Regions from separate parts of the Homo sapiens genome. Here regions 1, 2, 3, 4, 5 and 6 are each linked to region 7. The links are contacts of gene promoters, found by promoter capture Hi-C in blood cells and fetal thymus (Javierre and others, 2016). All regions are on one chromosome and are shown on one strand. Each heading gives the region's core, a stretch centred on a gene start or on the middle of the fragment in contact. The rest is flanking DNA. Distances are from core to core; before and after follow the strand shown. Region 1 overlaps LINC02553 (long intergenic non-protein coding RNA 2553). Region 2 has its middle 120 kb from the start of LINC02553. Region 3 has its middle 44 kb from the start of LINC02553. Region 4 overlaps LOC105369450 (a long non-coding RNA gene). Region 5 overlaps ARHGAP42 (Rho GTPase activating protein 42). Region 6 has its middle 180 kb from the start of LINC02553. Region 7 holds the start of CNTN5 (contactin 5).

The links. The method cuts DNA at HindIII sites, captures the fragments that hold promoters and counts their contacts. A CHiCAGO score of 5 or more calls a contact.
Region 1: a fragment that was not itself captured here is called in contact with the fragment with the promoter of CNTN5 in region 7 in 1 of 17 cell types (endothelial precursors); the score reaches 5.9 in endothelial precursors.
Region 2: a contact is called between a fragment that was not itself captured here and the fragment with the promoter of CNTN5 in region 7, in 2 of 17 cell types (M2 macrophages and endothelial precursors). The highest score is 6.1, in M2 macrophages.
Region 3: a fragment that was not itself captured here is called in contact with the fragment with the promoter of CNTN5 in region 7 in 1 of 17 cell types (endothelial precursors); the score reaches 6.0 in endothelial precursors.
Region 4: a fragment that was not itself captured here is called in contact with the fragment with the promoter of CNTN5 in region 7 in 1 of 17 cell types (erythroblasts); the score reaches 6.9 in erythroblasts.
Region 5: a fragment that was not itself captured here is called in contact with the fragment with the promoter of CNTN5 in region 7 in 2 of 17 cell types (naive B cells and endothelial precursors); the score reaches 5.2 in naive B cells.
Region 6: a fragment that was not itself captured here is called in contact with the fragment with the promoter of CNTN5 in region 7 in 2 of 17 cell types (erythroblasts and endothelial precursors); the score reaches 6.1 in erythroblasts.

Annotation. Positions count from the first base shown.
Region 1 is chr11:97,248,730-97,252,575 of GRCh38, forward strand. The region is part of intron 1 of LINC02553 (long intergenic non-protein coding RNA 2553); the gene reads right to left. Among named protein-coding and RNA genes, the nearest start is that of LINC02553, 9.0 kb to the right of the region's middle. The HindIII fragment of the contact is 2,555 bases long and covers 969-3,523 here.
Region 2 is chr11:97,141,462-97,145,144 of GRCh38, forward strand. No RefSeq gene overlaps it. Among named protein-coding and RNA genes, the nearest start is that of LINC02553, 120 kb to the right of the region's middle. The HindIII fragment of the contact is 3,775 bases long and covers 360-3,683 here.
Region 3 is chr11:97,213,906-97,217,973 of GRCh38, forward strand. No RefSeq gene overlaps it. Among named protein-coding and RNA genes, the nearest start is that of LINC02553, 44 kb to the right of the region's middle. The HindIII fragment of the contact is 2,825 bases long and covers 143-2,967 here.
Region 4 is chr11:97,267,399-97,271,107 of GRCh38, forward strand. LOC105369450 (a long non-coding RNA gene) reads right to left here. Exons shown (of 4, transcript XR_007062859.1): 4 at 3,555-3,633. Among named protein-coding and RNA genes, the nearest start is that of LINC02553, 9.6 kb to the left of the region's middle. The HindIII fragment of the contact is 549 bases long and covers 1,366-1,914 here.
Region 5 is chr11:100,926,590-100,930,263 of GRCh38, forward strand. The region is part of intron 6 of ARHGAP42 (Rho GTPase activating protein 42); the gene reads left to right. Among named protein-coding and RNA genes, the nearest start is that of SNORD13I, 5.8 kb to the right of the region's middle. The HindIII fragment of the contact is 3,084 bases long and covers 588-3,671 here.
Region 6 is chr11:97,439,522-97,443,128 of GRCh38, forward strand. No RefSeq gene overlaps it. Among named protein-coding and RNA genes, the nearest start is that of LINC02553, 180 kb to the left of the region's middle. The HindIII fragment of the contact is 1,008 bases long and covers 948-1,955 here.
Region 7 is chr11:99,018,314-99,022,317 of GRCh38, forward strand. CNTN5 (contactin 5) reads left to right here and starts at 2,636. Exons shown (of 25, transcript NM_014361.4): 1 at 2,636-2,957. The HindIII fragment of the contact is 2,136 bases long and covers 966-3,101 here.

The DNA of each region.
Region 1 (3,846 bases), core at 996-3,495, 1.8 Mb before region 7:
TTCCTTGGAGCAGTTTAGCAGCAACAGCCATGTCTGTAGATCTCTGGTATTTAAGCTCCCAAAATGGCACCCCGTTGAGGCTGCTCTAGGCTTGGATGCCTGTGGGATTCCTTGTGGGTTCCCTTTCTGCAGCAGCGTCTCTGTGCAATCTTTAGGCAGTTCTGTATGTCAGGAACAAGGCCCTAGTGAGTGGAGGGTTTCTCTTGTAGCGAAGATTGTAGAAGCCCGTTTTGGATTGTGGAGCCCTGGGGATTTCTCTCTCACTATTTGCCTGTATTCAGAAATCTCTCCTGGCCCGCAGTCAGTCCCTGGACCAGGCAAGCTGCCTCAAGCCCTTTCCTTACTTCTGGTGCTTCCTGTCTTTTCTCTGGTGATCATGTTGTTCTCTCCTCTCAAGTTTACTTTGTGTACAGGGAAGGGTTGAAGAGGGCAACTTGAAATTAACTCCAGCTCTTGGGATTACAAGAAACCTAATTCATTTTAACTGCTGAAATCTAGATCTGCCAACACTGGGCAAATACAAGAGCTACTTACTCCAGGCTTCAGTTTTAACTTCCCGCTACCATCTAAAATATGTTTTGGTATGTATAAATTTATTCATTTTAAACTAAACTTTTATTTGATAACCTGAAACTTGTATGTGTCTGATCATTGATGTATAACTTCCAGAATCCTCCATTATATCTGCTTTCCTTAAGATTGTCATAGTTTTCTGTCTGCCTGGAATTTTGGAACCGATCTTCCAGCCCCATAGAACTTTCTTCCCTCCCACATTTCTAAACTTGATTTAATATCTTATGCATCTCTCAGCCTTTAACTCAAAAATCTGCTTCCTAGGAAGTCTTTGGTGCCTCTCAGATCAAATGATGTCTCCCTTATATGTGTTATCACTGATCTACTTTTCCTTTGTCTTTATTTTCACACCATAATTAAGTATTTATGTACGTTTATCTTCAACCTACAATGTAAGCTTCACTGGGGCAAGGTGCAGATATTGTTCTTCTTATCCTTAAGGCCTAGTTGTTTTTTTGAGCTGTTAGTATGTGCTTAATAAATAAATGTTGAATGAATTAATGAGAAAGGCACAATTTTATAGAACGCAAGAGTCATTGTTCAGTTACTTTAAGAAAATGCTTGCCTGAAGGTAGGAAAGTAGACATGCCACTAGGGCAGTATTTTCTTTTGAAGTGCTTGATTATGTAAAGTGATGAAAAATAGAAATTTGAAAGGATTGGGTTAATACTTTCCAGAGATGTATATACAAGCACAGAGTTAGTCTTAAATTGATTTTCATGTATATAAAGTTGCTGGGAGTTGTCTAGTCACCTCTGTGATCATGGTAATTAGGTGACAGATGGAGTCTTGGTCTATATAAATCTCAGGATAAGCCCAGTTGATCCATGGACCTATCCTGTGGTTATTTTCTATGCCCCAGAATGTAGAGTAGGAATAGATACTAAATTACAGAATCTCCAGTTGATTTCTTAATGTATCAGTGGGGTACCATGGTAGGAAGGATCTCTGGAATTGTCACCTGCCATGCCTTAACTGTCATCTTAGCCATATTGAAACCAAAGGCAATAATGCATCCCTGGGGGAATTTCAGAGAATATTCTTCCACCAGCAGTGTCAAAACTGCATGGGTAGTGAGATTCTGGCAACTATTGTCATTGTTTCAGTTATTTATTTTATTTCATTTTGCTTCTTTTTATTACTTCTCTTTTGCTCCTTTTTTGTTTTTAATAATTTCAACTTTTATTTTAGATATGGGGGTACATGTGCAAATTTGTTACATGGGTATATTGAATGATGCTGAGGTTTGGGGTACAGATCACATCACCCAGGTAATGAGTACAGTATCTAACAGGTAGTTTAGAACCCATGTCCACCTCTTTCCTTCAGCCCTCTAGTAGTCCATAGTGCATTGCCCCAGTGAAACTTACAATATCTATTGTTCCCTTCTGGGGCTTGTGAGAAAGTCAAATAACTCTTGGAAAATGACTAGGTAATTTTAAATTCATTCAATCAATTATACTAGTCACAGCTACTATTCCATACTGATATCAACAAAATACTGTTATGTAGCTATTGATCTAAGAAATGATTTATACTCTGTGCAATCAGTAAAGACATCAGAAACAGTTTGTTTTTATCTCTTCAAGAATAACAGTACACTAATACTGTCTTAGCTCAGGGTTATATCAACTGTCATGCCTTCTGTGATGACTTAGCCTGAAGAAGTTTGATCATCTTGTTATCCTTCAGAATGTCACCTTTTTCTAATATATTGATGCTCTTATGCAAACTGAACCTGGCGAGCAGGAAACTGGAAACATCCTTGATACCCTAGAAAACAGAGTACTAGAATTTGTGAGAAATGTCAGGGGTATGCCATATATTTGGAGATTCTAGGGGTCCAGTTTTCTGGGCACGTCATAAGATCCCCTTTAAAGTGAAAGACAAGTTGCTGCTTTTTGAGCCACCCATTAGGTTGAAAAGAGAAATGTTTAGATTTTAGAGGGAGGAGTATAATCCTCTAATTCATTTACCAGATAGTCTATAATACTGCCAGTTTTAGCAGCGCCAGAGCAAAAAAAGGATTTGTATCACATCCAGGCTGTGATGCAAGCACCTATACCACTTGGGTCATGTGTTCCAGCAGCCTAGATTGTGCCTTAGCAGTCTATACCATAACGAGATACAGTCTGAAGCCTTCAGCAACTCCCAATAGAAGAATCACAGTGAAGACCCACAAATGTTGAAATAAGGTCATGGTATATTCTATATTCTGCTGACAAAAATTTTACATTTAGCAAAATAGTTTCTATCTTGCAATTGCATCAAGATAGAGCCATAGTGCCTGATCATAGAAAATTAAATGAATGTGAAACCCAAGATGCCCAATATTAAATGTGAATTTGATCCACTCAATCAGAAAGTTGGACATAGAAAGATAAACTTTCTATTAAATGAAAGTTGTATGTTATGAATGTACCCAAGGAAGTCTTGAAGGCACAAGCAAGTTGGATACAAATATTGCTCATATTCATATGTTACCTGCTCCCTGCTCTAAACACTTCACTACTTCTCTTTATACCTAAATGTGTGGCCTCATGTGGAGTTTCCTGTGTTGAGTTAACAGGGGGCCTAGTTAACCATGTGTAGACTTGGCATATAAATAAGTCTGCATGGCATTTAGCCCTGCTGGAAGTACATAGTGCTGCACTACAACCTCACTTACAGGTAACCCTAATAGTATGAAAAGGAAACTTGCCAGTGAGAAGAACTTTGGGCAAAGTATCTGGGTTTCCACCGTCTAGAATGAGAGATGGCTTGGAGTGTAGGGATCCTCACGGACTCATGAAAAGTGATTAATGGGTTGCCCAATTTCCCGAGGACTTGGAAAGGACAGCCTGAAGTCTGGTTACAAGGGAGTTTTCCAGACAGGAATTTACAGAATAGGTAGACTATGAGTATATCTGTATTCATGTAAATTCCCACTGAAGATTTTCCAGGGCAGAGAAGCTTATCAACAATCAGGTTAAAAAGCTGACCCATTCTCTACACGTAAGCAAGCCTCTTGTAGCGGTCTGCAATGGGCTTTCACTGATGACATTCACAGGTTGTTTCCTGGGCTCCATTACTCAAAAGCATATGGATTGTTAGAACTATAGAAAGGTTTGTTGGTATCAATTACAGAGCAAGCTGCAGAATAACAACTAATTATATTGGTGTGCCTTCTCAAAGGGTATAATGTATGCCTTAAAGCCAGTTTAAGGTGTGACCTTTTGCAAATTTCCCAGTTTTCAAGGGTCCAGAACCTAAAGGTTAAGGTGTGGTGGCTCT
Region 2 (3,683 bases), core at 997-3,496, 1.9 Mb before region 7:
TGAAGTTGGGGAGCATTGCAGGCAGGGATTCAAGGTTAGATGGAGTTGTTGCTCTGGTGGAACTCAAGGATATACTTCCCAGAAATGTGTGATTGTGGATTGCCCACCTGTCTAGGTGGAGCTATAGATTGGGTCTATTGTAAATTGATTGGCTGTTTGACCTCCTGCATCAAGCACTATCCTCTGTGTTTCTCCAAAATACACAGAAGTGGGAGTTTCTTTGCCTGGTTGGATCACTGGGCAGGCATTTTGTCTGTGTGGAGCTGCTGCTTACCTTGCTGGGTCAAGCCAGTGTAGGTCTTTCTCTTCTCTGACATGCGAAGGTAGGACTCTCGCTGCCTTGATAGGGTCATTGGGCAAGCTTTGGGTCTGCAAGGAGCTGTTGCTTGCCTTCTTGGGTCAATCCAGTGTAGCCATGTTGCTGCATTAGGTTCCACAGAGGTGGGAGTCTTCTTGCCTAATTGCCTCTTATATTGTCATAGAATAATGCTAGTTGCATATATAATCAATATTTTTTTTCTGTGTGGAGAATTACTCTTTTATCATTATATTATGTCCCCTTTAGCCCTAATAATTTTCCATGTTCTAAAGTGATATTTGTCTGATTAATATAGCCACTTTGACTTTATTAGTTTTAGCATGGCCTATCAATTTCCATCTCTTTAGTTTTAGCCTATCAAATCAATTATTTCCATTGTGGCTATTTTTAATTTCCAGTATTTTCTTTTGATTATTTCTTAGGCTATCATCTCTATGTTTATATTACCCACTTATTCTTTTATGTTGTCTACTATTTTCATTGGAACCTTTTTTTTATTATACTTTAAGTTTTAGGGTACATGTGCACAACGTGCAGGTTTGTTACATATGTATACATTTGCCATGTTGGTGTGCTGCACCCATTAACTCGTCATTTAACATTAGGTATATCTCCTAATGCTATCCCTCCCCCCTCCCCCCACCCCAAAACAGGCCCCAGTGTGTGATGTTCCCCTTCCTGTGTCCATGTGTTCTCATTGTTCAATTCCCACCTATGAGTGAGAACATGTGGTGTTTGGATTTTTGTCCTTGCGATAGTTTGCTGAGAATGATGATTTCCAGCTTCATCCATGTCCCTACAAAGGACATGAACTCATCATTTTTTATGACTTCATAGTATTCCATGGTGTATATGTGCCACATTTTCTTAATCCAACCTATCATTGTTGGACATTTGGGTTGTTTTCAAGTCTTTGCTATTGTGAATAGTGCCGCAATAAACATATGTGTGCATGTGTCTTTATAGCAGCATGATTTATAATCCTTTGGGTATATACCCAGTAATGGGATGGCTGGGTCAAATGGTATTTCTAGTTCTAGATCCCTGAGGAATCGCCACACTGACTTCCACAGTGGTTGAACTAGTTTACAGTGCCACCAACAGTGTAAAAGTATTCCTATTTCTCCACATCCTCTCCAGCACCTGTTGTTTCCTGACTTTTTAATGATCGCCATTCTAACTGGTGTGAGATGGTATCTCATTGTGGTTTTGATTTGCATTTCTCTGATGGTCAGTGATGATGAGCATTTTTTCATGTGTCTTTTGACTGCATAAATGTCTTCTTTTGAGAAGTGTCTGTTCATATCCTTCGCCCACTTGCAAAATTGATAGACCGTTAGCAAGACTAATGGAGCCCTTAACATAGTAACAATCGTTATTTTTAATTTCCTGTCTGGTAATTCAAAAAAAACCTGTGCTATATGTGAGTCTGGTTCGGATACTTGCTTTCTTTCTTTTTACTGTGTTTTTTCTTGCCTTTTGACATGTCTTATAATTTCTTGTTGGATGTACTATGTAATATGGTGAGTAATAGGAACTGAGGTAAATAGGTTTTCAGCATATGGTTGTATACTCTGACAAGTAGATGGTCTATGCTTAATGTTTGCTGTAGTTGTAGATACCAAAGTGTCTTTTTGTTTCTCCTGATGTCTTTGAGTTTTCCTAAAATCTTTTCCTTACATAAAGCCTGCCCTCTCTAGATCTTTCAGCTGTAATCCAATGTTATATAACTGCAGATTTTTTGACACCATGGTAAGAGGTAGTGCAATGAGAAGCATTCTAAATCTTATGATTTACACTTAGTCTTTTAGTGACCCATCTCCCTAGCATGTGACCTTTACAAGGGTTTCTCCACTTCCTTTTTTCCCCCTTAGGTGATACAGGAAGATGAGGGAGTGACAGTTGAGCACTTCCCCTTCTTTCAGGTCAGATAAGGCTCTGGTAAAGTCTTCCTCTGTGCTGAGCAGGTTTTAGGTATGGAGAGAATATTCTAGCCGTATGCCCTCCAAATATGGATATTATGACCATATTTCAAAATGTTTACTATCCATCTACTTCTGCCAGAAACAGGAGAAGTTTTTCTTAGCTGTTTACCCTGAAAACCCGGTGAGATTCCTTGATATAAAACCCATGAAATTGTGCTTTGCCTCCACCCAAGGACTGCATTCTCCAAAAGTTTCTCACTTTTGTGTTAGTCCACATTTCACTTCTAGCAATTAATCAAAGCTACCATTTGTATTCCTGCTAATATATTGCTCTAGCATCTTTTGCTCCAGGTAAGCTGATCTCAACTGTAATTCTCTGTATTTCCCTGTCTCTTCAGGTTCTGAGGTGATGTTTTGGCCTGTGACCTAAATTTTCTGATAAGTCTAAAAAAACCTCATTGAGTTTTAGGTTTTTTCAGCTTTTGTCCTATAGTATGGAGTCACAGTTCCATGTTCTGTATATGTTATAGCTGAAATCAGAAGCTGCTCTTTTTTTTATACTGAGCCAAAATCCATCTTGTAGCTTCTAGATATTGGCCTAACATTGACTTTTAGATCTTCAAAAAACAACACCTAACATATTTTTGTTCATAAATTTTAATTGAACCCTAAAAGAAAAATAATTCAGCATTGCAATGTACTTACTAGATCTCCAATACTCTGTTAGAAATTATGTTATTTCTTCATATCAACTTTTCAAGGTAGATAACTTTTATAGATATGGAAACAGATATTTGAAGAAGTTGAATAACTTACTCAACATAACAGCTAGAAAGTGGCAGAAATAGAATTAGACCCTTGGCCACGTTCTTCCCAAACCCTAGGTTCTTCTTATTGCAACATGCTGCCCTCACCTCCAGCAGTTACCTCAATGTTGGGAGGGGATGGGGCAGAAGATATGACATAGGATTGCTTACCTGCTATTTCTAAGAGATATGAGAAAGGCACCTTGTTTTAAATGTATCTAGGATTTCACTTTTATTCAGGAATGGCAAGCAAACAGATTATGAGGCTACTGCCATTGAGAAGATAATTTGTTACTCACAGTTCCCAAGAGAAGACGGTATACCATGTGATGCCATGCATAGCCACCTGGGAAACCACCAGAGTTGGTCATGAAGTAAGAGGAGTGAGAGGATGGACCAGAGCTTTTATTGTATTATTTTTGTGGGAAGAAGTAAGTGAGGCAGGGTAGGTATGCTGAGCCAGCTTAGAAGGAGATACTTTGAATTACTATAGATGATTCTGGGCTTTGGAGGTAGTCCTTAGATGTTTGGTACCTGATCCTGTGGTGATGTAGGAAAGGGGCATACTGTCCCTGACTGCAAAACCTGATAAAGGGACATATAAAGGGAGTATGGACTCAGGATTGGTCAGTT
Region 3 (4,068 bases), core at 305-2,804, 1.8 Mb before region 7:
AAATCATGGTATACATATCCTGCAAACAGTTTTAATAATTTATGAAAAAATTTATTGTAAAGTTGTGCTTACAAATGTAGTCTTGGCCTTCTACATGAGATACCTGGAAGGACGAGATGAAGATACATTTGGGTATTTGTGAAGCTTGACATTTGGCGGTAGAACTGTGAGAAAATTTTTCTCCGAGGTTTAAAATGTTTTACTGAACTTTTGAGATAATTACAATAATTAAGTATTGCTTTTATAAATTGGGAAAAATAATAAAGCAATATTAAACATTAAAAGTTTGTGTTAAGATATACATATTTTCAGATTCTCAAGGAAAGCACATCTTTGTTTTAATTATTGGCCAGGTAACCGTGAGACAATGACAACTAAATTTTTTTTGCAGCAAGTCTCATGTTTAGTGAATTTGCCCATGGGTGTGGATGAGGCAATGTCACTTTTTTTTTTTTTTTTTTTTTTTTTAAGAAAACAACATATTCTTACCATGTGATCCAGCAGTTATGTTCCTTGGTATTTACCAAAAAGAACTGAAAACAAAACACACAAAACCTGAACATGTCACACAAAAACCTGAACATGGTTGTTTATAGAATGGTTGTTATACTCATTTTTGACACAACTTGGAAGCAACCAAAATGTTGTTGAGTAAGTGAATGGGTAAATTGTGGTTCATGCAGACAATGGAGCAGTATTCAGTGCTAAAGTGAAATGAACCATCGAGCCATGAAAAACATGGAGGAATCTTAAATTCACATTAGTAAGTGAAAGACTAATCCTGAAAAGCTACATACTATATAATTCCAGCTATATGGCATGACATTCTGGGAAAAGGTAAAACTATGGTAAAAAAGTAAAAAAAGATTAGTAGTTGCCAAGAGTTGGGGGTAGGGAGGAATACATAGAGCACAGAGGGGTGTTTTTTTGCTCTTTTTTTTTTTTGTTTTGGACGGAGTCTCACTCTGTGGCCCAGGCTGCAGTGCAGTGGTGTGATCTCAGCTCACTGCAAGCTCCGCCTTCCAGGTTCACGCCATTCTCCTGCCTCAGCCTCCCGAGTAGCTGGGACTACAGGCGCCCGCTACCACGCCCGGCTAATTTTTCGTATTTTTAGTAGAGATGGGGTTTCACCTTGTTAGCCAGGATGGTCTCGATCTCCTGACCTCCTGATCCGCTCGCCTCGGCCTCCCAAAGTGCTGGGATTACAGGCCTGAGCCACCTCGCCTGGCCTCACAGATGGTTTTAGAGCAATTGAAATTATAATAGTGGATACAAGAATACATGTCATTATAGAATACCAAGAGTGAGCCCTAATGTAAACTATGGGGCTCTGGGTGGTAATGATGTGTTAATGTAGGTTCATCAATTGTAACATGTACCACTGTGGTGAGGGATGTTGATAATGGGAGGCTATGCATATGTGGGAGTAGTGCATATATGGGAACTCCGTACTTTCTGCTCAATTGTTCTGTGAACCTAAAACTGCTTTAAAAAATTTAAAAAGTGTATCTATATGTACTAAGTGATTTAACACATTTTTAATGTAATATTAATTAGGATTTATTAGGCATTTTACTTATATATTCTATTTATTGTAATCTCTCTTGATTCCCTTTTTATTTCATCAATAATACTTTCTTTGGCTGATTTAGGAATTGGTAATTTTATTTTTATTTCTTAGGTTGTTGCTGTTAAAGACCTATATTCATGCTTATTTTTTGCAATTACCTTCTTAAATACATCATTTTCTATATACTTCCCCAACAAGACAAGTACTTTTATCCTTCCTTATGTCCCCCATTTCACCCCTCCATTTCCAGTCACCAAAAGTTATTTGTATTAAATTTTATTTTGTGTATATATTATCATTTCTGTTTCTTTGATTTTACCTTTATTATGAACAATAATAAATTTTATCAAAACACTTGAATACCCTTAATTCTCATATCTCCAGCATTTCCTCCTAAAAGTGTTTCATTTCATGCAGCAAATTATTTGTGACTTTCTGTGTGTGCAAATATTTTTATTGCAATCCACACTTGATTGAAAATTTAGTTCAAAGTTATTTTTCTTCAGTACAAAAGAGTTTCATTTTTTTCTTATCAAGGGTCACTAATGAAAACTTTGATGTCACTCTGATTTTTTTAAACATTTTATTGTGGTATAATGTATGTGAACAGCTACATGTATTTAATGTATGAAACTTGATGAGTTTGGGAATAAGTGTACCACCGAGAAATTATCACCACTAAGGCCACAGACATTTCCATTACCTTTGAAAGTTTCTTCCTTCCCCCCATTATTTTTATTATTACTAGTCTCCTTTCACACTGATTCTTGTTCTATTAGAAGTAACCTGCTTTTTCTCTTTGTATTTATAATATTCTCATTTTCTTTCTTCTTAAAATGTTCCATAATCTAAATTTGAATTTTTTTTTCTCCTTAACAGTTCAATCTCGAGGTGTTTTTATTTTAATACTGGCTTTATTTCCACGCTTTCAGCTCTTTTCTCATATTTTTAAAATCTTCTCTCCTTTTCTTATGCCTACCTAGCATATATACTAACGGTTTCAATTCTACCACATCTCTTAGTTGTCATTATATATATCCGTATCTCTATCTATCTGTATAGATAGAAATAGATTTTTCCCTTCATTCTTTTTTCTGATGTCTTCTAGGATAGAGATTCAATCTAGTCTTTTAATTCACTGTTCCCTGCCCCCTCCAAGCTGGATTTCTCTGCATACTTACCAATGTATTCCTTATTTCAATTAATATATTTTACACCCAATTTATAGTTTATAATTTGTTTTTCTTGTATCATGCCAATATCCTATCTTTTTTGATATTTACTATAAATATTCTAAATGATTCCTCTGTTACATTAGTTCTGTTTTAAATAGTGTATGTTATCTAGTTTCCTTTTGAAGTACGGTAGTCTTCAAATGTATAGGGTGGTGTTATTTAAGCTTCCAAATTCGTGTTTCTCTAGTATATCAGCTGCTCTGTTAGGTTATGTGCATTGAGGAAGGAGCTATGTAAGGCCAGGTCTAGCTCTGTGTCAATCCTGGTGAATTAAGGATAAGGCAGAAGACTCATACAAAATCTATTTTGATCACCTCCATTTGCTGTGCCTCATACAAAAATAATCTGGGAAGGTATTAAAAATTCAAGCTTTAGGCAACAGCTTCATATGAGGAGGCAGCTTGCATAGTTTATAAGAGGATGGGGGAATATGAAGGAATCAGCGCTCAAGGCCAGCTGGTGAGTCCATACCTACTTTCACTAGCTCCTCATCCCTACTTCCTTTCATTCTGTCCTTATTCCGAGAACATCTGTGCTGGAAGATTCAGTCTGGCACAGCTGATTCCTGTAATGAAGGGACAAAGACTGTCTCAAGGTAACATGGGATGGCAAGGTAGAATGGGGGATAAGAAAAACGTAAAAGCTTTTCTCCAACCAATCCTCTTACTGTTAGCTTATCCACTCTCTGCCCATCCTGCTTCCACTTTCCCCTTATTCCCCCTTGACATCCACAATACTTAAACAGTGCCTTTGGACTCCTCAAGACATGTCAGGGATTTCTGTTTTTATTTATATTCTTAAATTTATTTCCTGAAATCCATTTTTTCCTCTATTTTCTATAGTTTTTCCAGAGTTAATTTTGGAGGGGGTAGCTTGTGGCCTTGCTAGTTCACCATCTTGGTGGTAATCAACGTGCCTTGAAATATTTCAGGCCCTGTTTCTGTGTTGATGTCACTGAATACCTGCTAGTTTCTGCTCCTGGGTGTGGCTTTTGGCATCTATACCCCATCCCAACTCCCCAACTCGACCTGTTCCTGACATCAGCTCACATCAATATCACAAGGTCTCCAAGGATAATATTTACAAAATACAATAATCTTAGAGTTTACATAAAAGAAACTGGAGTAGAACTGAGCTATGGTGTGTCTTAACCCTCCTCCTATTCATTTGTTAATTCTCCCTTGAGGGAAGAGGAGGGGGAGTGAGAGAAATAATACCCACATTTGTTTCTCATCCACAGTCCATTTCACATTTTTTGTTTGT
Region 4 (3,709 bases), core at 390-2,889, 1.8 Mb before region 7:
TTGGTAGATTCCCTAAATCAAATTGAAGAATTTTGTTTATATTCATAGTTTGTTGAGTATTCTCATAATGGAGAGGTGTTGGATTTTGTTAAATGCTACTTGTGGTTCTATTGCAATAATTTTATTCGTCCTTTATTGCATTAACATGTTGCATACATTAATAGATTTTTACATGTTAAATCAGTATTGCATTTGTGGGATAAATTTTACTTTGTTACAATGTCTAGTCTCTTATATATGGATGGATCTGGTGAGCTAGCTTTTTGTTAAGAAATTTTGCCTCTCTCTAGATAGATAGATGGATAGATAGATAGACAGAGATATAGATATAGTTCTCCTATTTTCTTTTCCTTTTATTTCTTTTTTTGGTTTTGTATCGGGGTAATACTGGACTCAGAGAATTGGGAGTATACACTTCTCCTGCTCCATTTTTTTGTAAGAGTCTGTAAAAAGATGGTATTAATTCTTTAAATGTTAAAATTCACCATTGAAGTAAACGGGCCTGAGCTTTTGTATTTTCTCTGTGAGTAGTTTATTTTTCTCTAAATATCAATTCAATTACTTTAAACATTGTTAAGTCTATATGAAGTTTCTATTTCCTTATGAGTCAGTGTTAGCAATTTGTTTTTCTAGTGTTTTGTTCTTTCATCTAAATTTTCTAATTTATTAGCACATAATTTTCATAGTATTCCCTGACAATACTTTATTATTTAAGTCTAGTAGTGTTCTCTTTCATTCCTGATTTTAGTAATTTGAGCATTCTCGCTTCTTTCAGTCTAGCTAAATATTTATAATTATTAAGCTATTCAATAAAACAACTTTTTGATTTGTTTATTCGTTATTGTTTTTATAGTCTGTATTTTATTAATTTCAAAACTATTTGCTTTTTTAATCTTTCTTTGAGTAGAATTTGATCTTTTTTTCCTAGTGTCTTGAGGTGAAATGTTACCTTATTGATTTCAGATCTTTCCCTGTTTAAAATAATAGGCACTTACAACTACAGATTTCTAAGTACTTGCTTTAACTGCGTCTGATAAGCTCTGGTATGTTTTGTCTTCATTTAATTTATATCCAAAGCACTTTCTAATTTCCCTTGTGATTTCTTTTTTGATTATTTGGTTATTTAGGAGTATGTTGTTTAATTTTCATGTATTTGTGAATTTCCCAAATTTCTTTGTGTTATTGACTTCTAATTTTATTCAGTTGTGGCTGCAGAATATGCTTTGTAGAATTTCAATTACTTTAATTTATTGAGGCTTATTTTATGGCCTAACACATACTCTACCCTGGAGAATGTTTCATGTGTACTATGCTGTTGTTGGGTGCAGTGTTCTACAGATGTCTGTTACATCTGGTTGGTATATAAGCTTGTCCACATCTTTTATTTCCTTATTGATTCTTCTGAGTAGCAGTAGTTGTTTTCTGTTTGTTTAGTGACTGTCTGGAATATTTTAGTGAAGTCTATTTGTCCCAAGGCATGAAGTTCCTGAAGTCGCTCCTCAGAGGTTATAGCTCTGGACATGTTCAAAGTCACCCTGGGATGACAGTAGTTTCAGCAGAGCTATCTTTAACTGTTTCTTACACTGATCACATCGAGTTGCTGATCAGGTACTCTGTTTTCAAAAATTCCATGGGGCATATATTGTTCTATAGACTGTTCCAATTAAATTGAGGACCTTTGCCCAGATAGTATTTGGGGCCACTATATGAGGTTTTTATGACTCCAGGATTGCTTTTCTTAGCTGTCTCATTCCCCTCGTCTCTCCTAAAGCGGCTTGAGTATGACTGATCTTATTCTTCTCATGAAGTTACCTCCATGTAATTGCTTTATTAACACCTTCAATGTTTTGGAAAGCACCGTTAGGCTTGAACTTCGCCAGACTCTACTTAAGTGAAGTCAGTTCTTTTCAGTAAAGCTTCAGAGTTCTCTGTTGAGACTTGCCTCTGCCCCTGGACAAAATTTCTGAACCAAGTTCCTAGAGCTGCAGTCCAGGACTTTGGACCACTTTTCGCTGAGTTACCCCTGCTGGAAAGGCATGTACACCCCTAGTTTTCTAGGCATGCTTCTTTTCTACAGATTAGGTGGGGAAACTCTTCCTTATAAATGAGTTGGTATGAAAGCCATTGGGGCCTGGTGTTCTCAGCATGTTGTCCGTAAGCTAAGGCCCCCACCCATGAGTGGGGCTCAGTGGATAAAGCGAGCCACTGACCTCTTCAGTGAACTTGCCTGGAATTTAGCCTCTGCAAAGTAGCTGAAAGGAGTATTAAAAAAAAAAATTCCACTGGCTTGCTCCTCCTCAGAAGATATCATACCCTTCCACTAGGGGGATAGTTGTGTTCTTAGCTACATTTGCCTGAGGGAAGTTTCCATCACATTATGCTGAGAGTGCAGAGAGAGAGGTCATCGTTCAAATGCCAGTCTCATTGTTCTTACTGAGTTTTAGTAGGTTTTCTTAAATAAATGTGTCGTCTTTGGCTGTATGCCTTTAGAATAATTCCAGAGACATTACTTTTAATTATTATTACCAGTTATGTTCATTTCACTGAGTGGCCCATTCAGCTTCTCATAATACCATTCCAGAAATAGAATTTCCTTATATTTGTTTGACAGTCATACGATATCTGTAAACATGTAACATATTATTTGACCAGGCTAGTTTGGAGGATAGTATACATTATGGTGTAATAGTCTACTTACTATCTGAGTTAATGCAAATGTTTTGTTTCCTGGTATATTGTGCAGAAAAATTATGATATCTTGACTGCAGAATTTCAAAGAAAAAGGTAAATTTTTTTTTGCAAATTTTGAATGTCTGAGATAGTTGTATGCAATGTGTAATACACACACTTACAATATTAGACATATACATACATGTATAATCTACCTTTATACAGCATGCCCACACACACTCATACACACACACAAATACACATACATAGTCTTTGAGTTAATATCATTCAACTAAGCACTTTAGGTCAGACCTGTATTGATTCTTTAAGTGGCTAGGTTCTAAAAGATGATACCTTCTTTAGTTTCTGCTTCAACTAACAGAAGTCAGGTTTAATTACTTGGAACCACAGAGTCCTGACTGACTGATATGAGTATCAAATAGTCACAAATTATCTAGACTGCAAATATCATTTCCTTGTGATTTACAGATAAGAGAAGCCTGAACTCTAACTTCTAATGAATATACTTAAAAAGCTTGTTTATATTTGACCATTTTTTGTTTCTTAATGAATGTTTATGCTTCAAAAATCTATCCTCATTTTCATCTATCACAATGGCCAATACCATGGTTCCAGAGCCTTGCAAAGCATGTCTATGGTCTTGTAGATTCATTTGTCTAATCTACTGCTGCTGATACATTAACATTTCCCCCAACTATGGATAAGTCCTATTCCTTGATTCGTCAAATATATCCAACACCAATATATAATAAGCCAAATTCTTCTAAAGCCTTGGAGAAACAGAAATAAATTTTCATGAAGCAAGAAAAAGAAAATCCCTGAGAACTCTGTTAATGTATCTTATAATTCATAAGCTGCAAAATAAGTAAAACAAATAAAAATATATGGACTATACCTTGAGCATTCCTAGAATTCAGAGAAATACTGCTACCTTCAAATTACCTATAAAGTAGAGAAATAAATACACCTAATTACAACAAAGTGGCCACAATCATTTCAAGCCAATGTGTCTAGAGAG
Region 5 (3,674 bases), core at 880-3,379, 1.9 Mb after region 7:
TCTTACAGCTGTGCAAATATGGCACACTTTACAAATGCTCTGCCTCAGGTTTTTATCTGTATGTTGAAGACAAAAATAATGTGTAGTTCCCAGGATCACGGTGAGGATCAACCAACACAGGTAATGCACAAAGCTCTTGTACCTGGTACTTCATTAGCGTCAATAAGGCACCAGCCAGTGTGTACCTCACCTGTACTATGATTGCTAGATATGAAAACAACATTTATGAATCCCTTTGTTAGTTGTGGCTTTAAAGCCCTGTGTGGCTTTTTTAAAAACACATTTTAATTTTAGCCTTCTAAATATACACCTAGAGTAAGTTTTGTAATAGCATTTTCATGTTACAGTATTCCTTTTAGAGTCCATTATAGTCTTTCTGTATTAATGTTTAAAGTTAATGCAGAAAATGAAAATAAATCATCATATATAAGCTAAAATATAGTGCTTTTGATGCTCTTCCCTTGGACTGCTAAATTCAATTTAAATTTTTTCGCTGAAGAAAATTTGCCTAATTTGCTAACATGTTATAGCTTGTTATTATCAAGACGTATACTATAAAATACTTTTCAGAGTCTCTAAATTTAAAAAGCTTAAATAATTTTGAGATTGAAATGCTACTGGCTAAGTCTTTTTTAAAAGTCCATCAGCTAGTATATAGATGAGCAGCTTTTGAAAGTTTAACATTTTGATGTGTTTTTCTTTTTCAACGTAATCAGTTAGCTTTAATTTAGTAAAAGTGAAAAAAATAAGGTTAGCATCATTGTTTTTCGAAACTCTGTAGGACTAAAGGTTAAATTTCTATCCTGTTTAAAATCTAAGGGCATTCATTCTTTAAAAATTTAACAACAAAACTTTTAAGTAAAAATAAAATCTGTAATGGTCCTTGGATAAATCTAAAGTTCAGGGTATTGTTATTGAAAATTAGAAATTTGTGATAGAACTTAGTGAACAGAATTTTGTAAAAGTAAGAAAACTGCATCCTATGTGTTTGGTAGAAATCAATCATGTAGCTTCTGCTGGGCTTTATCAGCTTGCTGGTGACAGTACTTTCTCTATTACAATTGAGCTGTAAAGATAAGCTGGCTATTGTCAATGCCTCTGTTCCTTTACCAGGAAAGTGTACCTCAGGCCTCTTCATCTGAATTCCATCCTCTTGAATGCTTACAAATCCATCTTTTCAGGAATTCCAATGACGCTTTTCAGTGCTGAGGCGATGCATGGCCACGGCTTTGTTTTATTAATCAGTGCACGTAATTGTCCATTCATTCATTTGTGCTTCTGTCCTCCCATTTTAAAAGTAGTCTTTTCCAGGCCAGCATTGACTGGCCACTTTCCATTCTTGGCTCTCTTTTTATCTTCAAGTTTCTCATTATTTATTTGATTCGATTTATATATGCTTTCGTTTTCATGCCATGAACTCCTTTGCACATCTATGCATTAGACTTAAAGCAATCTGTAGTCATTTTGAAGGTATCCTTTAAGATGTTTATCTCTAAGTTTCCTCCAGGCAGGGAATTGCAAAGACTACAGATTTAACTCACAGGCCTGACACTTTTACAGTGTGAAAATTGATGCCTTGACTTTGCCCTACTTTTCTAATCTTCTTAGAAGTTTAGATGGCCAAATATGAAGGATGGAACTATATAACATTTTGATTTCTTATAGTGCCTTATGGTGCTTTGTGTTTGGGAAGTATTTATTTTTATTTTTTAAAAACAACTTCAGGCCAGGCATGGTTGCTCACACCTGTAATCCCAGCAAGTTGAGAGGCCGAGGCGGGAGGATTGTTTGAGCCCAGGAGTTCAAAACCAGTCTTTGCAACATGGCAAAACCCCACCTCTACAAAAATTAGTTGGGCATGGTGTCATGCGCCTGTAGTCTTAGCTACTTGGGGGCTGAGGTGGGAGGATCACTTGAGCCTGGGAAGTCAAAACTGCAGTGAACTCTAATCATGCCACTATCCTCCAGCCTGGGTGAAAGGGTGAGACCTTGTCTCAAAAAAGAAAAAAAAAAGTCATAAAGATACAATTCACATACCATACAGACAACTCATTTAAACTATACAATTCAATGGAACTTTAGTATATTCACAGATCTGTGCAACGATCACCACAAAAAAATTTAAAGCATTTTCATCACCTTAAAAATAAACATCACATCCTTTAGGTATCATTCCCAGTATACCCCACAACCATTAATACTGAAACACCACTAATTATTTTCTGTCTCTATTAATTTGCCTACTCTGGGCCTTTCATACAAATGAAATTGTGTAATACGTGGCCCCTTTGGTGATTGACTTCTTTTACTCAGATGCGGTTTTCGAGGTTCATCCATCTGAAAGCATGCATCAATACTTCATTTCCCTTTAGGGCCAAATAACATTTTATTGTATGGATAGACCACATTTTGCTTATCCAAATATTAGTTGATAGGTACCTTTTCACTATTATGAATAATGTTATAAACCAGCGGTCCCCAACCTTTTTGGCACCAGAGACCAGTTTTATGGAAGACTATTTTTCCATGAAAAAATTGGTGAGGAGGGAAGGGTTTCAGGATGAACCTGTTCCACTTCAGATCATCAGGCATTAGTTAGATTCTCATAAGGAGCAGGCAACCTAGATCCCTCGCAGGCACAGTTCACAATAGGCCTCACTCTCCTATGAGAATCTAATGCCAGCACTGATCTGATAGGAGGCAGAGCTCACCCAGGTCTCACCTCCTGCCATGCAGTTGGGTTCCTAACCGGCCACAAATGACCTTTACTGGCCTGCAGCCCAGGGATTGGGGACCCCTATTATAAACGTTCATGTACAAATTTTTGTGTAGATACATGTTTTTCTCTCTCTTGAGGAATTACTGAGTCATGTGGTAACTGTATGTTTCACCATCTGACGAACTACCAAAATATCTGCACCCCTTGACACTCCCACCAGTGATATATGAGGGATACAGTTTCTCCATGTCCCTCACACACACTTGCTATTATCTCACTTTTTGAGTCTAGCTATCCTAGAGAGCTGAACTTAGATTTCACTGTGGTTTTGATTTCGATTTCTCTGATGACTAATAAGAATCTTTCAAATGCTTTTTGACCATTCATATATTTTCTTTCAAGAAATGCCTATTCAATTTCTTTGCCTATTTTTAAACTAGGTTATTTGTCTTTTTATTATTTAATTATGAGTTGTTTATATATTCTGCATACAAGCCCCTTATGGGATAAATGATTTTTGTAAATATATTCTCCCATTCTGTGAGTTTTCTTTCAATTTTCATGACAGTGTACATGAAGCACGAGTTTTTAATTTTGAATATTTGTTCCTTTTCTGTCTTGTAATGGGGTTATTTTAAAAGATTATTTATCTGTTAAGTATGGTATCAGTTTTTCCAACTGGTTGGGTTATTGGAGCGACAAGTAATTTGGTTCTATACCCTTGGGAATAATAAAGTGCTATATGAGATTTCGTCAGTGATAAAAGGAACTTTCTTAGTATTCAAACCTATTCCGTCTATCTAGAAGTTTGTAGTTGTTATTACGGTTACTGTTATTATTTTAAAGGTCAAATTTACTTTAGGGTAAACTGAAACCATAGTTTTTCCCTCACATCCCAGCCATTCAGGCAGATTCACCAAAGAAAATGATATGTGGGAAGTGCAATTCTTAAAGC
Region 6 (3,607 bases), core at 202-2,701, 1.6 Mb before region 7:
CTTTTTAAGAAGAACTACAAACAACTACTCAAGGAAATAAGAGAGGACATAAACAAATGGAAAAACATTCCATGTTCATGGATAAGAAGAATCAGGATCATGAAAATGGCCATATAGCCCAAAGAAATTTATAGATTTAATGCTATTCCCATCAAGCTACCATTGACTTTATTTGCAGAATTGGAAAAAACTACTTTAAATTTCATATGGAGCCAAAAAAGAGCCTGTATAGCCAAGATAATCCTAAGCAAAAAAGAACAATGCTGGAGGCATCATGCTACCTGATTTCAAACTATACTACAAGGCTACAGTAACCAAAACAGCATGGTACTGGTACCAAAACAGATATATAGACCAATGGAACAGAACAGAGACCTCAGAAATAACACCACACATCTACAACCATCTGATCTTTGACAGCGCGACAAAAACTAGCAATGGGGAAAAGATTCCCTATTTAATAAATGGTTCTGGGAAAACTGGCTAGCCACATGAGGAAAACTGAAACTGGACCCCTTCCTTACACTTTATACAAAAATTAACTCAAGATGGATTAAATACTTAAATGTAAAACCCAAAACCATAAGATTCCTAGAAGAAAACCTAGGCAATACCATTCAGGACATAGGAATGGACAACAGCTTCATGACTAAAACACCAAAAGCAATGGCAACAAAAGCCAAAGTTGACAAATGGGATCTAATTAAACTAAACAGCTTCTGCACAGCAAAAGAAACTATCATCAGATTGAATAGGCAACATACAGAATGGGAGAAAATTTTTGCAATCTACCCATCTGAAAAAGGTCTAATATCCAGAACGTACAAAGAACTTAAATAAATTTACAAGAAAAAAAAATAAATGACCTCATCAAAAAGTGGGTGAAGGATATGAACAGACACTTCTCCAAAGAAGACATTTATGCAGCCAACGAACATATGAAAAAAAGCTTATCATTAGTCAGTAGAGAAATGCAATCAAAACCACGAGATACCATCTCATGCCAGTTACAATAGTGACTATTAAAAAGTCAGGAAACAACAGATGCTGGTGAGGCTGCAGAGAAATAGGAACACTTTTACGCTGTTGGTGGGAGTGCAAATTAGTTCAGCCATTGTGGAAGACAGTGTGGCGATTCCTCAAGGATCTAGAACCAGAAATACCATTTGACCCAATAATCCCATTATCCTCTGGGTACCAATGATGGACTAGATAAAGAAAATGAGGCACATATACACCATGGAATACTATGCAGCCATAAAAAAGAATGAGTTTATGTCCTTTGCAGAGACATGGATGTAGCCGGAAACCATCATTCTCAGAAAAATAACACAGAACAGAAAAACCAAACACCGCATGTTCTCACTCATAAGTAGGAGTTGATGAGGACACATGAACGCAGGCAGGGGTACACCACACACCGGGGCCTGTTGGCAGAGGTCGGGGGTGGGGTTGGGCAGCAAGAGGAAGGAGAGCATTAGGACAAATATCTAATGCATGCAAGGCTTAAAACCTAGATGACAAGTTGATAGGTACAGCAAACCACCATGGCACACGTATACCTGTGGAACAAATTTGCACATTCTGCACATGTATCCCAGAACTTAACGTAAAATAAAAACAAAAAAATAAAAGAAATAAAAGTCTCCCTGATTTGCTATCAGAGTTCAGTTTTTTAGCTCTTTTGCTACCATTTATTTCTGAATAAAATAAAGTGTAAGAATGATTTAATATTTTTCTGTGCCCTTACACACACATGCACACATACTTACAAACACATACATATATATGTATATAAATTTTAAGTGGAAAAGTTACATAAGTACAGGATTTTTTTGGTTGTTACTTTTCTTTCAACCTGAGTATGACTAATTTTGACTTCCTCCATCTGCTTTAGTTTACCCATGTCAGCAATCCAAGATAGATTATTAAAAATATATATTTAGCTGTGTCTAAGCTTCTGATTAATATGTATTGAAATTTAGATCTCAATTTATATTTTTGAATGTCTATCTTAGTTCTTTTCAAATCTGCCTGTTAATTTTTTATAATATCTTATCCTTTAGCCATATGTTTTATTAACTTATTTTACCACTAAACATACTAAAATACATATTTAATAGTCTCTATCAAAGCAAATGCCCTTAATCAGGTTGTTTTGATAGATTGCTAACTTTAATTTATTTGTGAGACAGAACTATAGAGAATTTCCCTTAATTTATGGTGTAAATAGAGTATATATGACCTCTCTATAAGCATGTATATATATAAACATCTCTATAGGTATACACATGTACACACACATATACATATATATAAAATATCATACAGCATTTTCTATACTTTTTTTGGAGGTTAATTTCAGCATATACATTTGGTAATACTGAGAGAAATGAGAGTCCAAATTTTATTTTTCAACAGTTTCCTCCTCTTCTCCATAATTCACCAACTAATGCCATCATACAGAAATTTGTATACTGTTTCATTTATTAATATAAAACAAATAGACAAGCAAATGACCATGGAGTAAGCAACAGGCCCTATTGGAGACTGAGTAGACAGAGTCTATTACACAACTTTATGACATGTCAAATACAGGCCCACGTGAGTGGAGTAGGCAGTACCTAATTTCTAAAATCTTAAAAGACAGGCTACTATTTATGGGACATACAGACACTAACATAATATTTAAAATAAGAAAGATATTTGATTTAATTCAAATGAAACTATTTGTATTCATCCATGGCTGACCTGATACTTTTCAGAACAAATAAAGTTATAGTGTCCTTGATATGGTGGATCTTTATAAAATAGTAGTATATAATACAGCACTTGTTTTATGGTATTATAATAATTTGGTTAATACTAATTATATGCTCTAAATTTAATCTGCTTAGAATTATATTTCTGAAAATAAGATCTTAAGTTACATTTTCTGCTTTTTCAAACTTATAGTAGTTTCCTATGTAGTAGGAATCAATGATCATTAAAAAGTTTTATACTAATTATATTATGTGGATTTGATGTGATATCACACATAACATGTAGCTAGAACAGATGTCTCTGTAGTACTTTTATATATTCCTTTCAGTTAAATGTAGTCTCAAGCAGAAATAAAAAGTAGAAAATTTAAATAACACTCTTTGAACAATCCAAAACAACAATAACAATTGTCTCTAATCTTTGGTTTTTCATGACTTGAATGACTTTCAGGCTTACAAATAAGTCAGTCAAGACTTCATTTCATTTTCTATTCTCGTCAGCTAAGAACTGAAATAATTCTAGTTGTTAAATTATGGAATTTATTTTAAATAATTTTTATTTTCCAATCAAATTTATACAAGTTTATGCCACCAGTAAATCTTGGTATCCCTAGAAAAGCCTTCATCATCTGAGTAGAAAATATTTTCTTTAATGAGCTTAGTTGAGTACACAGTTCTGCCCAATTAAAAATTCTTGTAAGTGACTAATTTCTACATAAAATGGGTGTTTATTTTTTTTCCCAGTGCCAAGCACAGTTTGTGGAGGCATAAGACACTCAATGAATATTTGTTTAATGAAAATATAAAAAGAAACATTCAAACCTTGTCCACTCATACCTTCAAAC
Region 7 (4,004 bases), core at 1,386-3,885:
ACACTGTGGATATAAAAGGATACAGAAGTGTACCTGATCTATAGAGCCCTTACTCTCCAAGCAGAAAATTGTAAAAATATACAGTACATAAGTTAACTCCATAACAGCAAAATTCTAAAGAAAGATGAGTCAGATAGACTAACAGTTTGTCTGTTACATATATAGATATTAATAGGGAATATATAATTGTATATTATTACAAATTAGAACATTAAAAGTCATAAAAGACATGAGAATAAATATAGTCACTCTTTCTGGGTCCTGAATGAAGTGTAGCCAGGTAACCTAGTCACCCCCAAATAATGATTGAAGTCAACATTTTAAATTTGAACTGACAGAAATAGACCTTACTATTTTTAATTAAACAGATTCAACGTTTCCTTTCTCTCCCTCTAAAGCATCAGATAACTTCGCAAGGAAAAGTGCTATTACATTATCTACTTGTTTCAAAAATATATTCACACCATAGTCTTGTGATAATATTGCTCTCTTTATAAAAAGTAGAAACATTAAAAGCTTTTATTTAGTTCTTGCTTAAGAAAGGAGAAATATTTAGTCCATTTACATCATGTAAAAGGTAAATTTTCTTGTTCATGTTAATGGTAGGAGGGCACCATGAATCATGTGACCGATAGCATTTCCTTCTTTACATTGGCTGCTAACAAAGTTAATGGCAGACCTAGCACCATTTGTAACAAAAACATCAATGCAGTTTTCTCTATAAACCTCATTTCTGGCTTCATCTTATCTCTCCTCCTATCACTTTACCGTTTGTCTTGATCTCACTGACCTACATTTTTTATTCATTTTTTTAAACTGAATAGATTTTTATAAGCCAACTTACATCCTTTCTAGGGCAAAGCTAGTTGAAAGAAATTATGTGACATAATGACTCAAAATGCCCAAATTATCGGATCATGGGTAATATAGAATGGTGTTCTAAGAAGGGAAGAGAACTTTCAGAAAGCTTTCTACACTCCCGATCCCTCTTTCAGGCTGCATGTGCTCAATTATACACTTTTAAAGGCAAAAACCTCATCGAACAATAAAAAGAATGCGTTAGAGCTCCTACACTTTGAATTTATTTTGTGATGTATTTAATGTGGTTATAAAAGTCCTGGTAGTTCTCTCTGTGAACCGACAGCCTGACAGAGGAGAAGAGCCAGTGGGGCAGAGAAAAAGCCACAGAAGGGGAATCTCCACAACGATCCCTCAGTTAACACATAAAGAAGATAACCTAGTTACTGGAAAGCAGGAACACGAATATAAAAAGTATGGAAGAGTGGAGAAGTATTAAATGCACACAAATTTGTCTTTGCTACAGAACAAGCAATCAGCCTAGATCCTGAGGATAGCGATTAAAAGCAGAGACTGGGTGTTTGTACATCATTGGATGAATGAGAAGCAGCCAAGAAACAGGAAAAGACTAATTTTAATTACCAGAAAAACTGCAAGAGAAAGAACACAGGGCTAGTGGTAGACGGCTTCCAGCTACAGGCTGCCTGGCACTGTACTCTCCTTGCCAATTAGAGCCAGTCAGACCCCATCGGGGGATTCAGTGAGCAGAAGAATCAGCGTCAGTCCAGGGTCAGGCTGCTCTCAAACACACATGAAAAACGGACACCAGCGGACACGGGGTGCGACCCTAGACTCCCATGCAGTTTCTTATACAGACACAGAGATAGAAAGCAGTACGTGGGATTTCCTTTCCATTAAATACAGGTGCAAACCACATTCTCTATGGAAATATATTGCAAAGGAAATGTTATATAATTTATTTAACAAATACCCAATTACCATCAGCCCAATCGTGGGAATTGGAAAACGACTCAAAGACTGAGAGGAAAAAAAAAAAAAAAGTAGAGAGGAGGACTGGCAGAACAATGGCACTAAAGCTGCCACACTGTGGATTTACTACCTGTGTTATTTTTCCAATTACAGCCATTGTAATATAAAAATTCCGAAAAAAAGGTTGCTGAGACCATTCCTTCGCTTTTTTTTAGAACTGAGTCAACACCCCAAATCAAAGAGAAATATAAACAGGCAGAGCCTGATAGTCCTTAGATGAAACGCGTAAGTGCAGAAACAAAAGAGAAGTGCTTCCCATTCAGGACTTAAGAAAATTCTGCAAAGTGAAAAAGTCCACTCTCAAACCGACCTAAGTGAACGCGTCAGTCTGTGCTGCTGCTGTCAGAGGTGTGAGCCGGGGACTACAGGAATCAGAGTGAAGACAGGAGCGGAGGAAGGGACTCTCGCCTGGATCTCCCGTGCCGACTCCAGCCAGCACGTTTGCTTTGTAATCTATGAATGTTAAATACGGAGGGGTTGCAGAGCAGAAACGCTCGGGGAAGGGGGGCAGGTCCTCTGTACTTAGCAGGGAAGGAAAATGCCGGTTGACTAGTGAGACGAGTGGAGAAACACAGAGCACCCTCCGGGAGGCGCACAGTTCGTTAAGCCCAGGGACATGCTCAATGAACCTTTGCAGCAAGAGGCAGTGAGGCGCTGGACGCGGGCGCCGGTGACAGCGCGGGCGGCCGGGGAGGGGCGAGGGGCCGCCCCGGGAGGACACAGCCAGTCAGAGGCGCGGGGCGCAGGGCGCGCGGACGCATTGGAGGAAAACACGCGAGCCCCAAACACACCAGCCGCAGGAGGCGCCGCACCTACTTCCCAATATAACCAACTACGGCGTGGGGGAGCGGAACTGCGAGAAGGCGGCAGCCAAAGTGCCATTAAAGCTCGGGGCGGAGAGGATGCGTTACCTGGGTCCCGTCTGCTGCGAGAGGCAGGGCAAGCTGGAGGATTCCCTCTGAATGATTAAGAACTCCGCAATTCGCCTCTGCCACAGGCTGCAAAGGACCCGAGGAACCGCTCTCTCTGAACTGTGCTGATGGGCAGGAGGATGGGAGACAGGAATTGAGAGTCACAGAGGAAGGACAGTGGAGTCTGGCATCTTATTGGTAAGTGGCTGACATTCCTTTGCCAGTGACTGCGTTCTGTGATTGTGCACTTCATCTCCCAGCCACTTAGGATTTTTGACACACTCTGTTCTGCAAAGCCATCCTTTCTTGCCATGTTGCCAGAATGTAAAAACTGTAAGATGAAGCTTTTTTAAATAAAGGAAACAAAACACGACTTTATTTCCTGCTGGGATTTTATGGCAAAAAGTTGAAACAAGAGTAAATATAACCTATTTGTATATCTCCTAATGCCACCCAAAATAAGAGTAAGCAATTCCTACACGCAAATTGCAAATTGTAAGGCAATAAATGCCAGGATAAAGTGAGGATGTTTCTACAAAAGAAACTAAATGTTTGGAAAATAGGATGCCGTTCTCAGGTACTGAATGTATGCCTTATGTTTGAGCAATGAGTTTCCGAGACTAAATAATTGGGCATCTGGCATTGCAATAACTTGTTAAAATTCAGTAGGGATGCTCTATAAGTGGAGTTCTACAAAGTTCGTGAGACTGAGAAAAACTGTATCTTGGATTATGCTGAGCTTTTTTCTAAAGGTTGTATAGGATTGTGATAGATTAAAAAATTATGTTCAGACATCCTTACCATGTTTTGTAGGGAGATATACGGAAGAGAATATCAATTTGCACATACACAAACCTGAGAATTACTCTGATGACCTGAACAATAAGTTGTTTCAACTATATTTATTTGCGAAAGAACCAGAATCCACTAAATATTTTAGAATTATATTACTTTTAAATCTTAGAACTGTTCTCCCAAGAAAAATACAATTTCATGTGGTAATTTAAATGCAGGTGAGAAGCAAAAAACTTTTAAACTGTTGTATGTTCAATGCCTTACCTACATTTCATTCATTTGTTTCTTAATTTAAAAGAGAAAATCATTTAGAGGGTCAATACTTCTACTTTGATTCTCAATTACGACTGTGGAAATAAGGATGAAAGAAGTAGATGTTCATTAGAATACTAGCATTTAAAATTATAGACAAATAGTCAAATTTAAAAATTAATGCAGATATCATCGATT